2 separate regions of the Homo sapiens genome follow, and region 1 is linked to region 2. Evidence: promoter capture Hi-C in human tissues and cell types (Jung and others, 2019). All regions are on one chromosome and are shown on one strand. Each heading gives the region's core, a stretch centred on a gene start or on the middle of the fragment in contact. The rest is flanking DNA. Distances are from core to core; before and after follow the strand shown. Region 1 overlaps LOC105372544 (a long non-coding RNA gene). Region 2 holds the start of PCSK2 (proprotein convertase subtilisin/kexin type 2).

Region 1 (2,700 bases), core at 137-2,636, 97 kb after region 2:
CCACTTTTCTTTTCTGATTGGTCTTATAGCTTATATCTCAGAAAGCAACCTTAATCCTTTTATTTCTTACTTCTTGTGGGAGGGAGGAGGAGTACAACTATTGACAAGAGAATGCACAGTAGTCAAGGTGGAGAAGCTGGTTTGGACTAAGGTGATGTTGGTGGGATGGAGGGTGGTTCAGTGAGAGAGAGAATGGAGTTCAGGATGGTACAGTCAGGTCTGTCAGGACTCCATGCAGGCCCCTTCACCATGCTGGTGCCTCTATCCCCAGTGGGTATGAGTGTTGCTTGCTAATGGCTCCCAGCGTCCTCCTTCTCTGACCTCAGGCAATGGAGCATACTCACCTAGAAAAGTGGTGGGAGTGGGAAGCTTGTAACCAATGACTCACTGAGACCAGAGTAACAAAGCCCCATTTTCTTGTCTCAAAGTAAGCCAACTCTTGTGTTGCTCATGCTCCACAGATGTCCATGGCATCAGGTTGATGCTAGATTCCAGCTGCACCCATGTCTTTTGCCACGTTCTTGCTTCTGCCTTGTCTGGCTTCCTGCATAGCCTGGTGTTTCCTGAGGGCTCCCTTGCAATGCATCAATTGGACAGAAGTCCCCTTCTGAGCCTCTGTGTCTAAGAAACCCAACCTAAGACAGACTCCAAGGTTTCTGGTTTGAGTAACTAGGTAAATAGTTAACATTTACCTAGAACATTTACTGAAATAGGGAACACCAGGGTATAAACAGGTGCGAGGGAGAAAAATGAAGGATTCAGTTTGTACTTGCTAAGTTTAAGATGTCTATGACACCTGATGGAGACATCAAACAGACAGCTGGATATCAGAGCAGGAAATTCAGATGAGAAGTTTGGGCTACAGATGTGAGGATCAAATCAAAGAATATAATTTAGACTGGAGGGTCAGGGCATAGTTCCCTGAAGAAGTGATATTCATTCACCACTTGAAGTCTGAGCAGGAAATAGTGAGGCCATGAGTGGAAGAAAGAGCCTTCCATGTAGAGGGAACAACAGGTGTGAAGCCTGAGCCTTTTCTTATTGATGTCAGAGGTGGGGAATTTCTTAAGTCTTTGATTCCAGATGCATCGCTTAACCATTGTCAAAGTAAGCAATATTTCTTTGAAGTTCATAATTTAGGGGGCATTTGTTGCTAAGTGACATCCTCATCTTATTTTCCTGGTATTTTTCAGGCAGATTCTATGTCTAGCAATAGGCAAAATTCATTAAGTAGTCTTATTTAAAAAAAAAAATACTTGAGTGTCAAAGAGCTTGTAATTTTGTGCTATCAGATGACGTTGAAATGCGCGGAGGCATTGTTAATAGGAAGCAAGGAGGATTCAGTCAGGGGCCAGCAGAAGGGACCCTGGGAGAAATATTAATAAATGGTAATTTTGGTTATGGGAAGCTTAAAAAAGAATTTAACAGTGAGAGAATTAAAAGGAAGTGAAAGTGAGCAAGAAAGGTAAAAATGAGGTAAACGCCGAGCAAGGGAATAATGGTGATGCAGAAAGCACATACTAACTGAGTTGGAGAGAGGATTGACTGCAGAGCGGAAAAATTTCCAAGATAAAAGCTGGACACATCCAAACCCATAAGGAGAAAGATTCCAAATGCAATAAACAGGGAAAGCCAGCTCTTGAATTGGGGTCCTGGGACAGGATCACCTGGGAGCTGGGAGCATCTTGATAGAGAGACTGCCTGACTGTCACCCCAGCCAAAGGATGGTTAGTGCGGTCACTGTCTTGCCATAGAGCCTCAGAGCTCATCATGTCTGCAGAGGAAAGGGGCCTTGTTACATAAGCAGGGTGTTTACACCTGGCCCATCACCAAGGGAAACACTAACTCCCCACACAAAGAAGAAAAGCCCCAGCGAGAAAAAGTCCTTGCAGAGCGCAGGCCTGTGGCCTCTGCAGGTAGGACTGATGAAGAGATATAATCAAGTGTTCTTGCTGCAAATACGCATGTTAAGAACTTGGGTTATTTTTATGTGCCGTGTAATGGCAATTAAAGGCCCAAAAGAAAAACAACCCATGACTCAAAGGACAGCTTAACTGAAGAGAATACGCTGAAATGAAAAGTGATTCAAGCTTCCCTCTAACCTCTCTCTTTGCCAATAAAATAAATCTAGAGGATCAGGCAAGTCTACATAGATGTCATACAGTTCTGATCTCTCTTTTGGCTTGCTCTTCCTAAAGAAGATGACAGCAAAGAGAGAGGGTGTTAGCCTGCATCTGCTCTGACTGTGTGATCTTGGGCAGGTCATTTATCTCCTGCAGAGCTTCAGCTTCTCTTTTGAGAAATGAGTAAGGGATTTTTTTCCCCCAAATCTCTGAGGTCTTTTCTAGTTGAATAGTTAAATTCCAGAAATCATTTTACTTGATAATGCCACATTTTCCAGAGTCCAACCAGAGAAAGCAGAAGGTTTGTGATAAACGAATGCAAAGAAAGAGTGCCCGCAGAGGAGAAACCCAGGTGAGTGGACATGGGCTATGTTCATGGTTCATCTTCCTGAGGTGTCCTTCCCAGCGTCTATTTCCCACAGACTACCTTTTGCTTTTTTGATTTCTATTTCTGCTGAGACAGACATTAAAAAAATTATATATCCATGTAACTTTCTCAATTGTCAGTGGCTCAAAGCCAATACATAGAATAGAGAATAAACAGCAATTTCAATTCCTCATTCCTTCCTTGAAGTCT
Region 2 (2,931 bases), core at 339-2,838:
GCACCCACCGCTCATCTCACTCCTCTCTCTTCCTGGGATCAGGAGCGAGATGGAGCCTAAAATCTCAGGGACCTCCACCCAGCCCTCTGGTAGCCACATCTCTGTCCTTTGGGTTCCCCTCGCCCCACCTTCTCTCTGCACCCACACTCCACCCCAGCCTGCGCCAGGTCCCCTAAGGACACTGGAGAACCCTGATACATCTTTTGCAGGAGAGACACGCAGGTCAGCCACAGCCCCCACCCAGCGCCCTTCTCTCTGTCCTCCCAGGATGAGTACCCTGGAGTCTCCAAAGGAGATCCAAGGTGTCCAAAGCTGGGAGGCTCACCTATCTGCTCAAACTGTCGAACTCTGGCAACTTCTTGGAATGGGGATCCCCACGCTCTAGTGGGAAAGCCAGGCTGGCCGCCCACGCATCAGGAGAGGACACCTCGACTTCTCCGTAGGGAATCCCCCTCAAAATCCACCTCTCCAGCTCCTGTAGCCGGGAGTTGAGAACTAGGGAGCCAACCAGAAGTGCGCTCCAGGGGTGGGCGGTCGTGGGCGGGGGTGAGGGCGCAGAAGTTCCGCCCCGATTTTAGAGACCAGTTTCTTTCCAAATCTAGAGTCAGGAAGCCGTTGTTCCCGGAGAGGAGCAGGGACCGAAGTCCCTGGGAGGGAAGTCCTCCCGGCGCGGGGTGGGAGAAACACCGAGGTGAATTGCAGTGTCCAAACGTCCAGCCTCGTCTGTAGGAAACTATTCTTTCTCCGGGGGATGGGGGTGGGGGAGACTTCCCTGGCCAAGTAGCCAACGCCAGGCTTAGCTGTTCAGGGCTTCATCCCTCCATCCCCAGGCAGCCTCGAGAACTTGGTACCTCGGACAGCATCCCCGGAGCATGGCATCCTGTGAAAGGTGTTATCCTATTTTCGCCATCAAGTCAAAGAGCAGTAAATTATTTTGATGACCTTACTAGTACAGATGAAGGACATTTTAATTACATAACCGGTGAAAGATCACCGGAGGCAATATCGTGTTAAAGAGCCCATGGCAGAATATCTGCATCGCATGAGAAAGAGAGAAAACTTGCAAATCTGCAATGAGATTGCGCAGGGCTGCCCCCCCGTCCCCCCGTTTTGAAACAACATGCGAAATGCATGGGAGAGCTTACCTTTCGGACTCCAAAGCCGTGTTCTGCTGCAACTTGGCGAGCTTTGTCCTCTCCCCCTTTATGCAACTCCACAAGAAAATGATTCGTGAAGACCGGTCGCTCAGCAGATGCAAAAACCATGACACAGAAGAGGAACCCGGCGGCCGCCTTCCACTGGGAGACACAACCACCCTTCATCCTTCTTTGGGAGTGAAAAGTGGTGCTAGGAGGCGCGCAGGCTGGCGGAGCAGGGGACTCGGAGGGAGGGTGCAAATAAAGAATTCTTATATATAGTTTTTAAAAAAATCTTTGTATAGAGAAAGAGACTGAACAGGGTCTTGGAAAGCAGCGAATCAGTGTGTGTTCTCCAGCATCTGGCTGGAGGGGAAGCCGTGCAGTCAGGCGGCCCGGCGCGCGGGCAGGGGTGCGAATGTGGGGAGCTGTGTGTACCGGAGAGAAAGAGCGAGTGTAGGTCTGTGCTTGATGCTAAATCTGCATTTTCAGCTCCTCCTCAGCTCCAATTCCCTAGGGGCTGGGGGAGAGCACCAGCTCGGGTGACGTGAGTCCGCCAGCGGCCAATGAGGGCGGGGGAAGCGGCGGGCCCCGCCCTGGGCCGCCCCGGGCCCGCCCCCGCCCACCCCCGGCCCGGCCCGGCCCGGCCGCCTCCGCCTTCTGGGGGCGCAGCGCAGCGCAGCGCAGCGCAGCGAGCCCGCGCCCCCGCCCCTTTCAGCACCGGAGAGCTCCCCCATCTCAGCCTGGCCCGCCGCGCGCCCAGGAAAATCCCCCCAGCTGTAATCAGGCCAGCGGCGGCGGAGTGATGTCATTGTTTGTGGGAATCTGTAGGCTCTGGGAAGGGAATTACGGTGTGTGCCGCTCTCAGAGGCCCCGAGGGGAGCAGGGGCGCCGGCCTCTGTGCCTCTTCCTGCTTGTTTCCCGCTGCAAAAACACCTCTCTCTCTCTCTCTCTCTCTTTCTCTCTCTCTCAAACACACACACACACACCCAAGGCATACTTGCCTCCCCTTATCCGAATAACAAAGCAAATATTAACCCTCCTCCCACCACTTTGGGCAAATCCCCGGGGAGGTTTGCTCTCCTTGGCACCAGGAGGGTTGGGGAAAGCACCTTCTAGGGGTGATCCATGGGGGGCGAGAGTGCAAGGACGAGCCCTTGTTTTTTGTAGGCTCCAGGCAGGTCCGGAGCGAAGCGGCTGGGAAGCCCAGCAGGAGACCCGGCTCGCCCCACCCGCGATGGTGACTGGAGGAGGCTCCTCTAGGAGTCCTGGCTGCACCTCCAAGATCTGCCTTCAGGAGAGACGCGGCCGGGGTGGACACGGCGGGAGGTGCATTCTCAGACCTGGGGACGTTCCACTGCACAAGGACAGCGAGGGTGCTAGTTGGGGAACGCATAGCCACCGATCCCAGGCGCCGGGCCAAGTCGCCCGCTGAACGTCTTCTACTGGAGGCGAATTCGGGCGCAGCGACGGGGGGCAGGGGCAACTAAGTTATCCGGTTAAGAAACGTGCACTCGCACTGGACTCTGCTAACTGCTGACGACGGACTCCGCTTCTTGCCTGAGAGGGAGGAAGCACGAACGTTCTGTATGTAACGAAATGAGGACGACTGTTTCAAAGCTACTCAAATATTGTTGTGTTAAAGAGTATTTACACTGATCTCATTGTATCATTTAGCTTCAAAGCTCAAAATTCTGCTTTACTTAGATAAGAGGTAAGAGATCTTTTCTTAGGGGCTTAAGTGCATGCAATTCAGAGAGAGAGGAAGAGACTATTTATACCATCGACACGTTAC

Evidence for each region. Contacts are between HindIII fragments. The study calls those that stand out against the background at their distance.
Region 1: a fragment that was not itself captured here is called in contact with the fragment with the promoter of PCSK2 in region 2 in 4 of the 25 tissues and cell types used here (adrenal gland, heart right ventricle, hippocampus and 1 more).

What each region holds. Positions count from the first base shown.
Region 1 is chr20:17,128,420-17,131,119 of GRCh38, reverse strand. All of the region lies in intron 1 of LOC105372544 (a long non-coding RNA gene), which reads right to left. Among named protein-coding and RNA genes, the nearest start is that of PCSK2, 97 kb to the left of the region's middle. The HindIII fragment of the contact is 3,310 bases long and covers 1-2,700 here.
Region 2 is chr20:17,225,697-17,228,627 of GRCh38, reverse strand. PCSK2 (proprotein convertase subtilisin/kexin type 2) reads right to left here and starts at 1,588. Exons shown (of 12, transcript NM_002594.5): 1 at 1,146-1,588. The coding sequence starts at 1,322. The HindIII fragment of the contact is 16,215 bases long and covers 1-2,931 here.